Linked DNA regions of Homo sapiens: regions 2, 3 and 4 are each linked to region 1. Evidence: promoter capture Hi-C in 16 types of primary human blood cells and fetal thymus (Javierre and others, 2016). All regions are on one chromosome and are shown on one strand. The core of a region is centred on a gene start or on the middle of the fragment in contact, and the rest is flanking DNA. Distances in the headings are between cores, read along the strand shown.

The links. The method cuts DNA at HindIII sites, captures the fragments that hold promoters and counts their contacts. A CHiCAGO score of 5 or more calls a contact.
Region 2: a contact is called between the fragment with the promoter of HTR3E here and the fragment with the promoter of ALG3 in region 1, in 9 of 17 cell types (M0 macrophages, endothelial precursors, M1 macrophages and 6 more). The highest score is 20.6, in M0 macrophages.
Region 3: a fragment that was not itself captured here is called in contact with the fragment with the promoter of ALG3 in region 1 in 3 of 17 cell types (endothelial precursors, M2 macrophages and erythroblasts); the score reaches 7.5 in endothelial precursors.
Region 4: a fragment that was not itself captured here is called in contact with the fragment with the promoter of ALG3 in region 1 in 1 of 17 cell types (M1 macrophages); the score reaches 6.9 in M1 macrophages.

Annotation. Positions count from the first base shown.
Region 1 is chr3:184,247,441-184,252,198 of GRCh38, reverse strand. ALG3 (ALG3 alpha-1,3- mannosyltransferase) reads left to right here and starts at 3,237. Exons shown (of 9, transcript NM_005787.6): 1 at 3,237-3,454. The coding sequence starts at 3,259. It overlaps EEF1AKMT4-ECE2 (EEF1AKMT4-ECE2 readthrough), which reads right to left and starts at 2,527. Exons shown (of 19, transcript NM_014693.4): 1 at 2,309-2,527. The coding sequence starts at 2,504. It overlaps EEF1AKMT4 (EEF1A lysine methyltransferase 4), which reads right to left and starts at 2,527. Exons shown (of 3, transcript NM_032331.4): 1 at 2,309-2,527. The coding sequence starts at 2,504. RefSeq lists enhancers at 2,641-2,750, 2,781-2,840, 2,921-2,970, 3,169-3,912, 3,913-4,656. The HindIII fragment of the contact is 5,512 bases long and covers 137-4,758 here.
Region 2 is chr3:184,094,178-184,098,575 of GRCh38, reverse strand. It overlaps HTR3E (5-hydroxytryptamine receptor 3E), which reads right to left and starts at 1,512. Exons shown (of 9, transcript NM_001256613.2): 1 at 980-1,512. The coding sequence starts at 1,046. It overlaps HTR3E-AS1 (HTR3E antisense RNA 1), which reads left to right. Exons shown (of 3, transcript NR_133658.1): 3 at 3,226-3,458. The HindIII fragment of the contact is 4,461 bases long and covers 1-1,785 here.
Region 3 is chr3:184,010,077-184,014,917 of GRCh38, reverse strand. ABCC5 (ATP binding cassette subfamily C member 5) reads left to right here. Exons shown (of 30, transcript NM_005688.4): 2 at 471-654. The coding sequence starts at 526. ABCC5-AS1 (ABCC5 antisense RNA 1) reads right to left here. Exons shown (of 3, transcript NR_046570.1): 2 at 4,277-4,467; 3 at 3,499-3,652. Among named protein-coding and RNA genes, the nearest start is that of ABCC5, 5.4 kb to the left of the region's middle. RefSeq lists an enhancer at 3,313-4,512. The HindIII fragment of the contact is 2,056 bases long and covers 1,295-3,350 here.
Region 4 is chr3:184,056,738-184,061,132 of GRCh38, reverse strand. HTR3C (5-hydroxytryptamine receptor 3C) reads right to left here. Exons shown (of 9, transcript NM_130770.3): 5 at 4,089-4,258; 6 at 2,546-2,706; 7 at 1,493-1,697; 8 at 1,090-1,305; 9 at 460-983. The coding sequence ends at 781. Among named protein-coding and RNA genes, the nearest start is that of HTR3C, 5.9 kb to the right of the region's middle. The HindIII fragment of the contact is 2,967 bases long and covers 74-3,040 here.

The sequences.
Region 1 (4,758 bases), core at 1,988-4,487:
CCAATCACCAGCATAAGAATCTGCTGTGAAGCTTGTTGAACATACAGATTCCTGAGACCCACATTAGACCATCCCTGGAATTAGAATCTCACAGTGCAGTCTAGTTCCCCAGGTAATTTTGATACACACTAAAGCTTGAGAAAACAGATCTAAGGTAAATCTATAAATAAGTGCAATGGTTTAAAATCACAGATTCAAGAAAGTGTTTACTTGTGGGGAGAAGGGGTTTTAGGAGGACCACACAGAGAACCTTGAATATACTTTTCATTTTGCCAGGCATTGTTCTAGGTATCCTTCATGCTCATTTAATCAACTTAAAGCCCAATTAATAAATATGCTTATGTTTTTAAGGTTGAGAAAATGGAAGCACAGAAATTCAAGTATTTTGTCCAGGATTACACAGCCAGTATAAGCCGAGCCAAGATTCCAACATAATTCACTGCCTCTGGAGTCCAAGGTGGTTTTTTGTTTGTTTGTTTTTTGTTTTGCTTTGTTTTGAGACAGGGTCTCATTCTGTCGCCTAGGCTGGAGCCCATTGGAGCCATCACAGCTCACTGCAGCCTGGATCTCCTGGCTCAAACGATCCTCCTGCCTCAGCCTCTTGAGTAACTCGGACTATGGGCACAGGCCACCATGCCCAGCTAAGTTTTAATTTTTTTTTTTTTTGAGACAGGGTCTTACTCTGTCACCCAGGCTGGAGTGGAGTGGTGCAATCTCAGCTCACTGCAACCTCCACCTCCTGGGCTCAAGTGATTCTCCTGCCTCAGCCTCCCAAGTACCTGGGATTACAGGCACGTGCCACCACACCTGGCTGATTTTTGTATTTTTAGTAGAGACGGGGTTTCACCATGTTGGCCAGGCTTGTCTTGAACTCCTGACCTCAAATGATCCACCCGCCTTGGTCTCCCAAAGTGTTGTGATTACAAGCATAAGCCACTGCTCTGGCCTAAATTTTTTGTAGAGATGGGATCTCACTATGTTGCCCAGGCTGGTCTTGAGCTCCTGCGATCAAGTGATCCTTCCACCTTGGCCTCCCAAAGTGCTGGGATTATGAGCATGAATCATGAGGCCAGCCCAGAGTCCAAGTTCTTTTCTTTTTTTTTTTTTTTTTTTGAGACAGAGTTTTGCTCTTCTTGCACAGGCTGGAGTGCAATGGCATGATCTTGGCTCACCACAACCTCCGCCTCCCTGGTTCAAGCGATTTTCCTGCCTCAGCCTCCCAAGTAGTTGGGATTATAGGCATGCGCCACCACACCCGACTAATTTTTTGTATTTTTAGTAGAGATGGGGTTTCTCCATGTTGGTCAGGCTGATCTCGAACTCCCGACCTCAGGTGATCCGCCCGCCTTGGCCTCCCAAAGTGCTGGGATTAATGGCGTGAGCCACCGCGCCCAGCCAAGTTATTAACCACTAAATTATACTTTTTTTTCTATCCCTAGTAATGTTCTATTTCTCAAACTGAGTGGAATAGACACACACATTAGATTTGTTATTTATACCTTACATATATATTACATATACCTTTTTTATTTATTAAAGACTTCACTTAAACATACAAAGGCTTTTACAAAGAGCAAAGTAAAAACGACAATTGGAAGAAAATCTGTTGCTCATTCAAACTTTACTAGCGCCTCCAAGGCTGACACTAGGAGAGAACCTCAAGAGGTCAGCCGAACACCCCAGAGCCCTACCTTTCCTCCAGCACGTCTCCCTTTGGGGAATCGTATCACCCTGGGCGGCAATCTCCCCTCCACCCCTAGAGGGTGCTGTTCTCACTCTCTAAGGCATAGGACCAAGTTTCAGACAGGACTCTCTCTAGGTGACTCTGGCTCCCAGTGCCCAGGGGCAAAAAGAAAAGCGCTGGGCATTATTCTCGAGGTGCCTGCGCGTGCCGCCTCCGATGTGAACTCGCAGTACCATTTCTAGAACTGAATCTAAAGCTCAGAACGGGTTCATGACTTGTCCTAAGTTTTACAAGTCAATTAGCGCTAGGACTTGATCTCGGTCCTCTGAGCAATCCGGTCCCCAAGGCTGCCTGCCTCCCGAGGGTCCGGACAGGGTCTTGGGTACCCCCAACGCTCAAACTCTGAGGGACTGTCTTTCTCCAGAGGGCCCCGGGACCAACAATCTCTTACTCCTGTTAGCCTTGACTAAATACAGCCGGGACTCTGAAGGAGCTGGATCTCGCGTCCCAACGCAGGCGTCCTCCAAGAGGGATAGACAGGCGGGAGGAAAGCGGACCAGGCCAAGCCCATGCGGCGCCGGTCCTGCCAGCTCTACCTGGCGGGGCCGCGCCGGGATTACCCACCTAGCACAAGGATACGGTCCTCGGGCCGCAGCTCCGGCTCTAGGAGGGCACGGAAGGAGGAGAAGTCCCCGAACCAATCGTAGGGGGCAGAATCGGCTGCGCCTTGGTAGCGCTGATCCCAGTACTCGACTTCGCGGTACCCGCAGTTCCGCTCCGGTAACTCCGGAGGCGCCCTACCTGCCCCTGGAGAGGCCATGCTCTCAACCGCCGGGCAGCCAGAGCCGCCGGCCCTTCAGCCAATACGGAAGGCAGGATGCAGAAGGCGGGGCGCTGGTGTCTCCGCCCACCACCTGCAGTTGCTCAACACAAACACGTGGAACTTCCGTCCTTTACTAAGCGCTCTTCGAAGAATCCTCCGGCTGGGAAAACTATCGTCCAGACCCTGAATCCTCCGGCTGTACTGCCAAGTCATTTCCTAGGGCCGCACTCAAGGTGTCAGACTCACGTGGGCTCATCACTGCGTCCTCTCATATTTTCAATATGAATGACTTTTATCAGGAAATCTGAAAATTAGTGAAAGGTTCATTTTTCTCAGCATCCGGAAGGCTCGAAGGGCAGGCAGGAGGGGCGCGAACAGGGGCTTTGCCCTCCTGGAGAGACAGCATGAACACAGATGTTCCCAGCGCAGGCGAAGGAGAATGCTGGCTTCAGCGGTTGTGGGGGAGGTAGGCAGGAATGTTGCTTTTCTGGACATTCGTTCTAAATTAGCGCCTGTGTACCCAGGGCTGGGTATAAACTGAGGAGTAAGACATTGTCCCTGCTCCTATGGAGCGTGGAGTGCATCAGAGGAGACAAATGCAGAAAAATTACATTTTAGTGGAGTAAATGAAGACTGGCTACTCGGATCGGCGCTTAGCCTGGTGGGACGCCAGGCACGGGAAGCGGAACCTAAGTGTCGAAGGTTCGGGTTTCCGGGGGTGGTGGGCCCACACAAGCGGCGCACCGTTAAGATGGCGGCTGGGCTGCGGAAACGCGGCCGGTCCGGTTCCGCGGCCCAGGCAGAGGGACTCTGCAAGCAATGGCTGCAGCGCGCCTGGCAAGAGCGGCGCCTGCTGCTGCGGGAGCCGCGCTACACGCTGCTGGTGGCCGCCTGCCTCTGCCTGGCGGAGGTGGGCATCACCTTCTGGGTCATTCACAGGGTGGCATGTGAGTGCGCCGAGGGGGAGGGGAGGGGAGGGAGGGAGACCTGAACCCGCGACCCAAACTGGATCTCAGACCTGGAACTCCAAACCAGACTCTGTATCCACTCACTCGTCAATTGCGAACCCATCCATATCCCTTACCTGAGCGCCAAGCCTGCTCTACAGAAAACCGGATCTTAATCTGCCCGCATGGCAGAGGTGGATACCCTAGAGATTGGCCTTCTGCACTGAACTTACAGCCTGCAAACCAGCTTAGAAGTCAGATTTGAGCCAAAATTGTTGTACTGCTGCTGCTGCTGCTTTTCTCTGTGGCTTTGGACACCTCAGGTCTCCTCCTGGATCTCAGCTTTTTCCATGTGTTCAGTTCTGTGATCTTTGAACGTCCCTTCTCAATGATGGCATCTTGTGACCACTTGAGTCCATTAGGCATTATTGGCTACTCCTTTCCAGGCTGAAACTATACTCTAGGCTTAAGGCACTTGGCTTTCTTGCTAAAGACTCTTAATTCAACAAATATTTATTTAGTGCTTATTATATGCCTAGCATTATGCTGGTTACCAGAGAGAGGTACAGTGGTGAATAAGAGATGCATTTCTGCCGGGCGCGGTGGCTCACGCCTGTAATCCCAGCACTTTGGGAGGCCGAGGCGGGCGGATCACGAGGTCAGGAGATCGAGGCCATCCTGGCTAACACGGTGAAACCCCGTCTCTACTGAAAAAAAAAAAAAAAAAAGAATTTAGCCGGGCATGGTGGCGGGCGCCTGTAGTCCCAGCTACTCGGGAGGCTGAGGCAGGAGAATGGCGTGAACCCGGGAGGCAGAGCTTTCAGTGAGCCGAGATCACGCCACTGCACTCCAGCCTGGGCGACAGAGCAAGACTCCGTCTCAAAAAAAAAAAAAGAAAAAGGATGCATTTCTAACTCGGGCCTGGACAGTAAGTTAGCAGGCAATTATAATGCATCATAATCATGGTAGTAGTAACACAGGATACCATAAAGGGCATAGGAAGTCACTTAAACCAGGTTGGAGGAGTCAGCAAAGGCTTCATAGAGCCACCCTTGGAAGGTAGGAATTAGCTATTTAAGGAAAGAAGAAAAAGGTGAGGGGAAGGAGTGCTGTGGACAGAGGATCCTCTATTAAAAATCTCCAGCTAGGCTGGGCGCAGCGGCACACGCCTGTAATCCCAGCACTTTGGTAGGCCTAGGCGGGTGGATCTCCTGAGGTCAGGAATTTGAGACCAGCCTGGCCAACATGATGAAATCCTGTCTCTACTAAAAATACAAAAATTAGCTGGGCGTGGTGGCATATGC
Region 2 (4,398 bases), core at 263-2,762, 150 kb after region 1:
CATTTGTCAACCCCTGTGTGCAAGTGCCCAGAGGAGCTTTCATAACCATTTACACTGCCTAGACCAGGTGTACAATTTGTGTCTCTTCCCTGTGCTGGCCTTTAAAGTCACCTCTGGTTCAGTCCTCTCCTGTGCCTCCTTATCCAAAGTCATGGAATAATCTAACGAGGAGAGATGACAGTTATTGGCACTTTTACCAAGTGCCAGACACTGTGCTTCCCTCCTTCTCTTACTGAATCCTCACAACCCTGCAAGGTAGGTTCTGTTTTACAGATGAGGAAACCAGAGCTCAGATAAGTTAAGCAGTGCATCCAAGTTTATAAAACTAGCAACGTGAGACACCAAGATTCAAACCCAGGTCCACCTGTCTCCAAATCCCATGTTCTTGTCTCTCTACCATGCTGACCCCCTGGAAGAGAAGCACATTCTACTTTCACCCTTGACCTGCTGCCTTCTGGCACCTTACCTAACCTAGAGCCCTTGGATCCAGCAGATGGACAGGGAAATTATGGCTAAAGGAGGTGGGCACTTTGCTACAATGGTTTGGGTTTCATACCTGTAGAGAGAAAGAATTACACCTGTGGATAGAAAGATGGATGGATATAGAAGCTAAATACAAGAGAAGACGATCGTGGATGGTTGTCTTCCATGTAGGGTACCAATGGAGAAAAGACAGACTTTTCAAGTAGTATTGGGAAAACTGGATATCCATATGTGAAAGGATAAAGTTTGCTGGTGTTGAACTCTATTTTTCGAGAAGGAAAATGAAAGTGCTCTTGTTTGGCATGTAACTGGAAGGGGATTTTCCGTCTTTCAGAAAAGGAAAGTCTATGTGGGCATCTTAGTAATGTAGCTATGAAAGAACTCTATCCATCTTAGACAATCTCTAGGAGTTGGAAATTTGAAAAAAGTTCCTAGATGTTCTACTAGAGAGAGGTCCTCCTTCTTCCGCCTTCCCCCATCATTGCTCCTTTCTTACCTTGAAGCAGAAAACCGAGAAGGAGGTAGAAGGAAAATCTTTTCCTGTGGAACCAGCTTCCTTCCATCTTCTTTGTCTAAGTTCTTCTCTGAACATGTACTGGGACCCAGGAATGCCCAGATTAAAGCAGCACAGGCCACACCTAGAGTCTGACTTTGAATACTAATAGCATTGGTTGACCACTGACATTTGTAACCTTCCTTCAAAGAGTGTTCTGGTTGTCTTGTTCTTGCCTATGCTTAAGGTTCAGTCTGCTTTTAAGACTTTATCTTAGTCTTAGGTATTTCACTGCAACGTAAATGGTTATAGATAGTTCATACGTGATCAACTTGCAGATCTTGGTGAGATCCCTTGGTCTGAAGACTCATCTCTTCAATTTTGGAAAATTCTCAGACATTTATAAATGTTTCACTTCCTCTATTTTTCTTATTAGACATGTGTTGAATGGTTTCCTTCTATCTTACATGCCTTTTATTGCTGTTGTAACAAATCACAAACCCAGTGGCTTAAATAAACACAATTTGTTATTTTACTGTTCTGTGGGCCAGAAGTTTGAAATGGGTCTCACTGGGCTAAAATGAATGTGTCAGCAGGACCGCATTCCCTCTGGAGGCTCTAGAGGAGAATCCATTTCCTTGCCTTTTCCAGATTTTTTTTTTTTTGAGACAGGGTTTCACTCTGTTGACCAGGCTGGAGTGCAGTGGCGCAATCGCGACTCACTGCAGCCTTGACCTCCTGGGCTCAAGGGATCTTTCCGTCTCAGCCTCCCAAGTAGCTGGGACCTCACAGGTGTGAGCCACCAAGCTTGGCTATTTTTTTTTTTTTTAGTAGAAATGAGGTCTCGCTTTGTTGCCTAGGCTTGTCTCCAACTCCTGGCCTCAAGTGATCCTCCAACCTTGATCTCCCAAAGTGCTGGGATTATAGACATGAGCCATTGTACCCGGCCTTTTCCAGCTTTTAAACTGCCTGTATTTCTTGGTTCATTATTTTTACTTCTCCATCTTCAAAACCAGCAACATCAGGCCAATGTTTCTCACAAGGCATCTCATCTCTCTGGTTCTTATTTGTTTCTCTCTCCTTCTTCCACTTATAAGAGCCTTTGTGATTGCATTGTGTCCATTTGGATAATCCAGGATAGTCTCCCCATCTCAAAGTCCGATAATTAACAACCTTAATTCCATCTGCAACCTTAACTCCCCTTTTCCATATAACCTAAGGTTCCAGAGATTAGGATGTGGACAAATTCTGGGGGCCGTTATTCTGCCTAGCACACCTCTCTTTCCTATTTTCTACCTCTTTATCTCTGTCCCTAATGATTTCTTCAGATCTAGCTTCCAGGAAAAAAATTCTCTCCTCAACTGTGTTTATTTTAATTAATTAATTAATTAATTTTTGATGAAACTCAGTAATTTTTATTGCAACTGGAAGACAATACATTGCAGAAACTTTATGGTAGGTCTGGGGAAAAGTGTTATTTACAATAGATTATGACATAATTTGTCTTTGACAATATGATTACATACGAAGAATGCAAAATGCAAGTATGGATGCCTTCCATATTTTATTTTATTTTGAGATGGAGTCTCATTCTGTTGCCCAGGCTAGAGTGCAGTGGCGTGATCTTGGCTCACTACAGCCTCCACCTCCTTGATTTGAGCGATTCTCCTGTCTCAGCCTCCTGAGTAGTTGGGACTACAGGCTTGTGCCACCACACCCAGCTAATTTTTGTATTTTTATTAGAGACAGGGTTTCACCATGTTGTCCAGGCTGGTCTTGAACTCCTCACCTCAGCTGATCTGCCCACCTCGGCCTTCCAAAGTGCTGGGATTACAGGAGTGAGCCACTGTGCTTGACCCTCAACTGTGTCTAATCTGTCCATCTAATCTGCCCACTGAGTTTTGGTTTTGTTTTTTTGTTTTTTTGTTTTTTAGAGAGAGGGTTTCACTGTCTCCCACCATGCCTGGCCCTCAACTGTGAGCCACCATGCTGGGATTACAGACGTGAGCCACCGTGCCCGGCCCTCAGCTGTGTCTAATCTGTCCACTGAGTTTTGCTTTTTGTTTTGTTTTGTTTTTTTTAGAGACAGGGTCTCACTGTCTCCCAGGCTGGAGTACAGTGGTATGATCATAGCTCACTGTAGCCTTGAACTCCAGGGCTCAAGCAATCCTGCCACCTCAGCCTCCCAAGTAGCTGGGACTACAGGTGCATGCCACCATGTGTGGCTAATTTTTTTTTATTGTTTCTAGAGACAGGGCCTTGCTATGCTGCCCAGGCTGGTGTTGAACTCCTGGCCTCAAGCAATCCTCCTGCCTCAGCCTCCCAAATCACTGGAATTTACAGGTATGAACCACTATGGCTAACCTTTTACCCATTTTTAAATCAAGTTGTTTTTTGTTGTTGAGTTTCAGGAATTCTATGTATAGTTTGGATATTAATCCCTTATCAGCTATATAATTTGCAAATGTTTTCTCCCATTTTGTGGGTTGTCTTCTTTCCTCTGTTAATAGTGTCTTTTGATTCATAGATGTTTAATATTTTCATGAAGTACTATTTGTCTATTTTTTCTTTTGTTGCCTATGCCTTTGTGTCATATCCAAGAAATCACTGCTAACTCCAATGTTTTGAAGCTTTTTCCCTATGTGTTCTTTTAGGAGTTTTATTGTTTTAGGTCTACACTTAAATCTTCTTTTTTTTTTTTGAGACGGAGTTTCACTCTTGTTGCTCAGGCTGAGTGCAATGGCATGATCTCAGCTCACTGCAACCTCCACCTCCTGGGTTCAAGTGATTCTCCTGCCTTAGCCTCTCAAGTAGCTGGGATTACAGGCATGTGCCACTACCCCCAGCTAATTCTGTATTTTTAGTAGAGACGGGGTTTCTCCATGTTGGTCAGGCTGGACTCGAACTCCCCACCTCAGGTGATCTGCCCGCCTCAGCCTCCCAAAGTGCTGGGATTACAGGAGTGAGCCACCGCGTCCAGCCCTACATGTAAAATATTTTATCCATTTTGAGTTAATTTTGGTATATGGTTTTAGGTAAGGGTCAAACTTCATTTCTTTGCATATGGATATCCAGTTTTCCCAATACTACTACTTGAAAAGTCTGTCTTTTCCCCATTGGAACTCTTGCAAAAATAATTTGGCCATTTGTGTGACGGTTTATTTCTGGGTTCTCTATTCTATTCCATTGCTATACATGTCTGTCTCTTTTTTTTTTTTTTTTTTTGAGACGTAGTTTCACTCTTGTTGCCCAGGCTGGAGAGAAATGGCACGATCTCCACTCACCACAAGCTCCGCCTCCCAGGTTCAAGCAATTCTCCTGCCTCAGCCTCCCGAGTAGCTGGGATTACAGGCATGCTCCACCATGCCTGGATAATTTTTTGTATTTTTAGTAGAGATGGGGTTTCTCCATGTTGGTCAGGC
Region 3 (4,841 bases), core at 1,073-3,572, 240 kb after region 1:
AATATATCATTGGTAGAATAAGTGTTTGGTAAGTTTTTATTTAGTAAAATTTAGTAGAAGAAATGATGTCCACTTTAAAATTGTGGAGTTTTTAATACTTGGGACAAACTGAAATTGTTTCTAGAAAGTCTTTAAAAAAAAAACCAACCTTTCTATTGTATACACTGGATTTGAGCTTAGTTGAAGAGAATGGGTGTCTCTTTACTAGTGTGTTTACTGTTTCTAATTTTTTTTCCCTTAGAGTTGGGAGAAGGTAATTTTTCTTGATTCTCTTATACTGAATCTTTTTCTTTAAAAAAATGAAATCAAAATCTTTGAACTTTTTTTGAAAATTAATTTTTGTAGCTATAACAGTAGAAAGCTTTAGTACTTTTGCCTTTTTTTTTTTTTTCCTATTTTTAAGGCACTTGAGCTTATGGTTAAGTACTGTTTAGGAAATAATCTATTTCTTGATGAATTTTTAATTTCAGGAATTCTGATGTGAAACTAACAGTCTGTGAGCCCTGGAACCTCCACTCAGAGAAGATGAAGGATATCGACATAGGAAAAGAGTATATCATCCCCAGTCCTGGGTATAGAAGTGTGAGGGAGAGAACCAGCACTTCTGGGACGCACAGAGACCGTGAAGATTCCAAGTTCAGGAGAACTCGACCGGTCAGTTTCCTTTCCTAAGAGTCTCTTACCTGCTTGTTGTACTAAAACACATCTTTTTTCGTATAATGGGTAATTTAGAAACTTATTTTTTGGCCGGGCGCGGTGGCTCACGCCTATAAACCCAGCACTTTGGGAGGCTGAGGCGGGTGGATCATCTGAGGTCAGGAGTTCGAGACCAGCCTGACCAACATGGTGAAAACCTGTCTCTACTAAAAGTACAAAAATTAGCCAGGCGTGGTGGCGGGCGCCTATAATCCCAGATACTTGCGAGGCTGAGGCACGAGAATCGCTTGAACCCAAGAGGCGGAGGTTGCAGTGAGCTGGGATCATGCCACTGCACTCCAGCCTGGGCGATAGAGCGAGACTCAGTCTCAAAAAAAAATGTGTTTTTCTTTATTGGCTTTAGGTTACTGTTAAGAATTTATGGTTATTGATAAGTCTCTGGTCCATAGTAAGCACTCAATAAGTGGAAGAGAGGCTGGCTGTCACCCTCTCACCCGGTCTGTTCTGAGCATTCTCCTCTTTTTCACTTTTATTCTATGTTGGTGCCTTCTGAAAAGGCTATACTTAACAGAAGACAACTTATTGAGGGGGAGGGGGTCATGGGGTCAATGACAGGGAATATAAAGCCAATTAAGCTTCATTCATGTACCTAAACAAAATTGGTGTTTTCTTCTACTTTCTGTCATGTGTGTTTAAAATGTGAACCTGGCCAGGCACAGTGGCTCATGCTTGTAATCCCAGCACTTTGGGAGGTTGAGGTGGGTGGGTCACTTGAGGTCAGGAGTTTGAGACCAGCCTGGCCAACACGGTGAAACCCTGTCTCTGCTAAAAATACAAAAATTAGTGAGGTGTGGTGGTGGGCACCTGTACTCCCAGCTACTCAGGAGGGAGGCAGGAGAATTGCTTGAATCCAGGAGGCAGAGGTTGCAGTGAGCCAAGATCACGCCACTGCACTCCAGCCTGGGCAACAGAGTGAGACTCCGTCTCCAAAAAAATAAAAAATAAAATAAAATGTGAATCCTTTGGAGAGACTCAGATTTCAGAACAATTCTAGATAGTTGTGGGATTATCAGTATGTTTTTCAAGCGAATTCATAAGTTAAGCAGTCTTTAGATAATAATCTAATTTCCTCCAAGGGAAATAATGAAGATGCGTTTTTACCTCGAGAAAATATTCTTTTTCCTGAGGAAAAAAAGCATTATACCTTTTCTTACAAAAGTACCTAATAAGGCAGAATGGACTAGGTTTAGGAAGTTGAGGTTTTTGTTGGTGTATTTGTTATGTGAAAATTTGAGAAAGATAATGGACTTTGCAGCTGACACTGGCCTTTCCTTAGCCTGATACTACCTTTCCCTCTTTGGTTGTGTTAAAGCCATTGCTTTATTAATGAACATTTTCTTGCTAATGAGTCTTTTCTGTACCCTACTGTGTATTATAGAATGCTTTTCCATTCAGGTTTAACTTCAGAGAAACAGGCTTAATGTAATCAGTGTCAAATGCTTCTCGTGGTGCCAGTTTTATAACTTCCTCATGTCCTTTTGTCTAGACCTTATGTTGATTAAACATCTATCCATTACATCTGAGTGCTAGACACATTTAGTGTAACAGTTAAGTCTGGAAAAAGTCAGAAGGTAACATTGGGGCAGGGCCTTAAAGGGTGATTAGGTGGGGAGGCTTTTTAGGCGGTACAAGTACAGACCCAAAGGTATGGAAAGAGCGTGTGACATATTGGGACTTTGGATAAGCTACTTACGTCATTTGTATATAAAATGGGGTTGACAGTAGTACCTGACTCATGGGATCACTGAGGAGTAAATGAGATAATACATATAAAATATTTAAAATGGTACCTGGCACATGGCCAGTGCTCAATAAATGTTAGCTCTTAGAACTAGTTGTTCAGGGCATAGGATGTGTAAAGAGATTATAGGTCGGGTGAAATTCTGCATGCCATGCTAAGAAATATTTCACTGTGGGCATTAGGGAACTATTGGAAGTTAATGAGATTAAAAAAAAAAACCTTTTTATTTTGAGCTAACTGTAGATTTACATGCAATTATAAAAAATAATATAGAGATCCTATATATTCTTCATCCAGTTTCCCCCAGTGGTAACATCTTGCATAACTATAGTCCAGTATCACAACAGGATAATGATTGACATTGATACAATCCATTGACTTTAGGATTTCACCAGTTTTATATGCACTCATTTGTGTGTGTGTGTGTGTGTGTGTGTGTGTGTGTTGTGTTCTATGCATTTTTTAAAGGTGTAAATTTGTGTGACCGCTTCCACAGTCAGGATGCAAAGGTTCCATCACAAGGATCTCTCGTTACCCTTTTATAGCCACAGTCATGTCCCCTCAACCCCAGTCTCTGGCAACTGCTAATCTTTTCTCCATTTCTGTAATTTTGTCATTTTAAGAATGCTATATACATTGAATCATATAGTATATAACCTTTCGAGATTGCTTTTTTCACTCAGCTGAACTCCCTTGATAGCCATCTAATTTTGTTGTGTGCATCAATAGTTCTTTCCTTTGTATTGCTGAGTAGCATTCCGTGTTATAGATGTACCATAGCTTCTTTAACCATTCATTTGTTAAAGGACATATGGGTCATTTCCAGTTAATGGCAATTATACATAAAGGTGCTCTGAACCTTCAGTTACAGGATTTTGTGTGAACATAAGCTTTTATTTCTCTGGATTAATGCCCAGGACTGCGCTTGCTGGGTCATATGGTAAGTGCATATTTAGTTTGTAAGAAACTGCAGTACTCTTTCCCAGAGTGTCTGTGCCATTTTACATTCCCACCAGCAATGATCCAGTTTTTCCACATTGTTGCCAGTACTCAATGTTATAATGTTTATTTTAGCCATTCCTATAGATGTGCCTGGTATCTGATTGTGGTTTTAATTTGCAGTTCCCTAATGGCTACGATGTTTGAGAGTAGATTTTTATCTTAGATTAGTCTTGAAGCAATGCAGAAAAAAACCTGTACAGGAGAAAGAGACCAAATATAAAGAGCATTCAGGAAGCGGCTCTGCCTATCCATGTCAGAGAGGCCAGGGTTCTGTTGTAAAGCACAGAAGTGAGGATGGAGGAAAGGCGTTTCTAGAAGATAGGGAGGCATTGGGGTGTCTGGGATTGATGGTAAGGATTTAAACCTATTCGTGGACATAAGAAAAGGAGATTGGGGAGATATTAAGAATGAGTTTGGGCCGGGCACGGTGGCTCACGCCCGTAATCCTAGCACTTTGGGAGGCCGAGGCTGGTGGATTGCCTGAGCTCAGGAGTTTGAGACCAGCCTGGGCAACACAGTGAAACCCCATCTACTTGGGAGGTTGAGGCAGGAGAATCGCTTGAACCTGAGAGGCGGAAGTTGCAGTGAACCAAGATCGCGCCATTGCACTCCAGCCTGGGCAACAGAGTGAGACTCCATCTCCAAAAAAAAAAAAAAAAGAAGAAGAATGATTTTGATTTTGAAGATGTTGAATTTGAAGTGCATATGGGTAAAATTATCAGTAGGTAGAGCATAGACAAGAAGTAGTGTAGGAAAAAACATTTAGAGCCTTTAGTGTGTCCACATAGGTGAAGCTGTGAGAGTGAGCAGGCTTACCCAAGGATGGCTTGCAGAGCAGGAGAAGGTGGAGGCTGTGGAGCTGGTGTGTGGTCCTGTGAAATTTCTGGGGATAGGGTCCCCAGCTTGTGAGAGTAGAGTTGACATCAGGGTTTGCAGTGGCAGCAGCGAGCTTTTCCTCTACGAAGTGGAGAAGAACAGCAGGTAGGCACCGCTGGGCTTTGAGTACCCTAAAGGATATGGAGTCAGCCACCACTGTAGCAGGTTTTCAACATGCCACTGAAGCCTTATCTCAGAGAAATATGAAGGCTAATACCACTTTTATAAAATTTCAGGAATCCACATGAATTTTATGAATTTTATTTTTATTATTCTTTCATGTTTCCTAAACTTTTTTTTTTTTTTTTTTTTTTTGAGACGAAGTCTCCTTCTGTCACCCAGGCTGGAGTGCAGTGGTGCAATCTCAGCTCACTGCAACCTCCACCTCCCGGGCTCAAGCAATTCTCCTGCCTCAGCCTCCTAAACAGCAGGTGCCTACCTGCTGTTCTCTGTTACCACATTGGCCAGGCTGGTCTTGAACTCCTGAGCTCAAGTGATCCGCCTG
Region 4 (4,395 bases), core at 308-2,807, 190 kb after region 1:
TAAAACTCTGAAAGTATCTAAAACCCTTAAAATCACATCAGATTACACCTGCTTAGGGGGAAGTATCAAAGCTTCTGCAAGAGGACTCTCCACCGCAGAGTTTGTAGACTTATAATAAATATAATGAAGAGGGCTGGGCGAGGTGGCTCACGCTTGTAATCCCAACACTTTGGGAGGCCGAGGTGGGCGGAACACTTAAGGTCAGGAGTTCCAGACCAGCCTGGCCAACATGGCAAAACCCTGTCTCTACTAAAAATACAAAAATTACCTGGGTGTGGTGGTGTGCACCTGTAATCCCAGCTACTTGGGAAGCTGAGGCATGAGAATCATGCCTGGGAGGCGGAGGTTGCAGTGAGCTGAGATGGCATCATTTGCACTCTAGTGTGGGTGACAGAGTGAGACTCTGTCTCAATAAACAAACAAACAAACAAACAAACAAACAAACTGAAGAGCCAGTGCTTCCTGGAAAGTTGTTTATTGGGGTGATCAATCAAGGAGAGACTCCACTGACCTGGACTTCCATTGATCAGGGAGTGAGGAGTTAGGTGGTAGCTCAGGGAGACTGAGGGTGAGCAGGAATGAGCAGCCTGAGCAGCGGTCGGGAAATCGTCCAGGGCTGTCCCGAACCTGCTTGCTAGTGCTGCGTTGGAGTCTTTGGAATTTAGAAGGGGACATGGTAGTCACTGGGGATAAGTGGCTAAGATTAGGAAAATGAGTCCGGCTGGCCCAAGACCAGCAGAAACTCCAAGCTGTTGTTTGCCAGAGAGGGGGGATGTCTGCCTAGGTGTTCCAGAGGACAATGACAGTAAGGATGGAGGAGGCCATGAAGAGCAGGTAGAGGCGGAAGAGCAGGGTGTCCATCGCGTGGCTGAACTGCACCCACAGCTCCATTAGCTGGGTCTTTGTCCATCCTGAGCCCCCATCTGGCTCGGTCTCTCTGGGTCCCAGCTTCTTCCCTGCTAACTCCCCCGGCTCCTTTGGGCCTGTGGAGAGGACAGAGGCTCAGTCATGGAGTGGGAAGGGGACAGGATTAGAGGAGTGCTGGGCCCAGTGTGAAGGGCGAGTATGGACAGTGCTGGCTTCCCTCACCAGGCAGGTGGGTGAGGGTGAGACCCAGGCCCTTATTTCCCTTCTGGGGCGCAGTGGGACAGCATCTCCCTGGGCTGGTGCAGTGGAGCAGCAGGGAGTGAAGCCACCTAGGCATGGGTGGGGGCTGGGTGGTGGCCACGTGCAGCAGGTAGGTAATGAAGACGGTCTCCAGCAGGCTGACCACCATCAGGGACAGGCACAGGGCGAAGTAGACACCTGAGGGCAGAGCAAATTATAAATAAACCAGGCAAATTTATCTCTAAGCATTCCTCACGCCTCTTTCCTAAATCCAATCTTCTTTCACAGCCCCTTCCTTCCTTCAGTGGAGCAGCGGCCATTTCTCCTGGCCCTCCTCCCTGGCCCCGGGTGCCCTTTCTCCTCCTGAAAGTGGGAGGAGCCATACTGATGAGGGGGGTGCCACTGGCAGGGAGCAAGTCATTCATCATGAGCAGGAAGACGTTGTAGCCCAGCAGAAGTGTTATCTTGAATGGGGCACGATTCTCGCTCTCTGCTGGCAGGTAGAAGCTGAGGGCATCAATGGCAACCAGAAAGCTACTGGGCACCAGCAGGTTTATGATGTAGAGGCTTGGCCTGCGCCTGATGGCCACCTGGAGAGAGACCGGAGAAGATGGCAAATAAATAGATGTCAGAGGGCTCAATTTGTATATCTGACCCCTAATCTTTGCCAATGTGCTGTGAGGCTGCTGGGGACGATCTTTTTAAGTAACACTTTTGCATATAATTGTGCTCGCCTACATAGGGGCCTCTGATTTGTTGTCTAATTTTTATTCATTTTTAACCTACTAGGAACACAATGACTGTAGAATTTTAGGTGCAAGTGGGCCCTTTAAGTCATTCTGAGCAGTAGGGGTGAGCTGATCCATTCTGAGCAGCAGGGCTTATTACAGTCCAGCCATTCCTGCCCTCTCCAGAGCAGGAGTGGGTGAATGAGGAGTGGGCAAATGGGGAGTGGGGGAGGCCTTGGGGATCCTGCTTCAGGGCAATTAGGTAGATGGGGCAGTGGGGAGCAGGTGCCCAACCCTCTGGAGCTTTATTTTTATTTTATTTTATTTTTTGAGACGGAGTCTTATTCTGTCTTGCCCAGGCTGCAGTGCAGTGGCATTATCTCAGCTCACTGCAGCCTCCGCCTCCTGGGTTCAAGTGATTCTCCTGTCTCAACCTCCCGAGTAGCTGGGACTACAGGCATGTGCCACCACACCCAGCTAATTTTTGTGTTTTTTAAATTAGAGACGGGGTTTCACCATGTTGGCCAGGCTGGTCCTGAACTCCTGACCTCATGATCCGCCTCCCTCGGCCTCCCAAAGTACTGGGATTACAGGTGTGAGCCACTGCACCCGGCCTGGAGCTTCTTTTTTGCTTCCCAAAGAGCCATAGGTCAAGAGGACAATCAAAGAGCTGCTGGGATCAGAAGTCAAACAGGGGCCCCTGGACTCACATAAAACATGATCTGGTCATATAGGTTGTTGCCCATGGACATCTTTGGGGTGGCCTTGTTGATGCCCAAGAGCTCCCACTCCCCCTGGGTTTGGATGACTTTGCGAGACGTGTCTGTGATCTCCCACACCTCCTTGTCCATGCCCAGCAGCATGCTGTCCACTGGAAGGGAGGCCGGTCAGTTCATTGCAGACGTTTTCCCAAGCCTCCCGCCCACGAAATTGGAGTCCTCCCCCACTGAGCTTCTAAACCAAATTTTCCTCTATCCTTTTAAAGCAAGGTATCCTGGTTTTCTCAGAAGTGGGTTACCCGACTAGCAATTCATATGTGTGTGGGCAGCGGCATTAATTTCTTTTGTTGTTGAAAACAAGAGTGAGTCAAGTTCGTTATGGGAATATTGGATATGACTGAAACGTGAGTCAAGAACTTTTGGAGTCATTCCTATTTTCCTTCTCAGTCCCCCAGTCGTATGGTGGTGTTTTAGTGGAATCAAGCTTGAATAGCTCAATATTTTAATAATTATAGGCATGCCCATTTTGATGGTTTTAGTTTATCCAAATCTGCCACATGACACCTGGTGGCATTCGGTTATATTAATTTACCGGTTTTTAAGTGTGTTAGCTATTAGAGTTAAAAGATTTGAGCTAAAAATTATAGGTGTGCAGCAGCTCAGAGTCAGCTGGGCCTCATTTGGCACAAGGGCCACTCAGCTTGTAAAGCAGCAGGTCGTAACCCCGTCTGCACGTTAGCATCACCTGGGCCCCACCTGGAACAATTTAATCGGCATCTGGGGTGATGTGCGCTTATTAGGCTTTTGTTTTTGTTTTTTGTTTTGTTTTGTTTTGTTTTGTTTTGAGACGGAGTCTCGCTCTGTCGCCCAGGCTGGAGTGCAGTGGTGCAGTCTCGGCTCACTGCAACCTCCACCTCCCGAGTTTCACGCCATTCTCCTGCCTCAGCTTCCCAAGTAGCTGGGACTACAGGCGCCCACCACCAGGCCAGGCTAATTTTTTGTATATTTAGTAGATATGAGGTTTCACTGTGTTAGCCAGGATGGTCTCGATCTCCTGACCTCGTGTTCTGCCCACCTCGGCCTCCCGAAGTGCTGGGATTACAGGCGTGAGCCACTGCGCCCTGCCTGTTTTTTGTTTTAAAAACAGAGTCTCACTGTGTCACCCAGGCTGGAATGCAGTGTGCAATCACAGCTCACTGCAGCCTCAGCCTCTCTGGCTCAAACAATCCTCCTGCCTCAGCCTCCCAAGTAGCTGGGGCTAATTCTTTTTATATTTTGTAGAGATGGGGGTCTCACTATGTTGCCCAAGCTGGTCTCAAACTCCTGGGCACAAGCGTTTGTCCCACCTTTGCCTCCCAAAGTGCTGAGATTACAGTGTGAACCACTGTGCCTGGCCAGTTATTGGTATTTTCAAAAAGCTTTGTTAGGCCACCGGAGTGGAGCAACACTGATCCAAAACCTTTTCTAATGATACCTACACCACTCAAATGTCTTCCCTGAATCTTAAACAGCTACCAAAATGTGTCACACTTACCTGTGTAGAGGAAAGAACTGAAGGTGAAGGTACAGTTCTGTTGGTCAAAAGGGAAGTAGAAGATGTCCAGGTTACAGATGCTGGTCACCCTCATTGGCTTATCATACTTAATTCGACCTTCACTGCTGATATAGGCAGTGAGACCGGAAGGCGTCTGATCCACATCCATGCTGTTTGGGGAAGGGAGGGAAGAGATGGAGGCTTAATCAGCTCTTGTCTCCCTTCCTTCTGGGGTCTCCCCTGCTGTGCTCTCCTTCTGGGCTCTTTCTCTTTCTATTTTTATTTTTTTGTTGTTTTTGAGACAGTT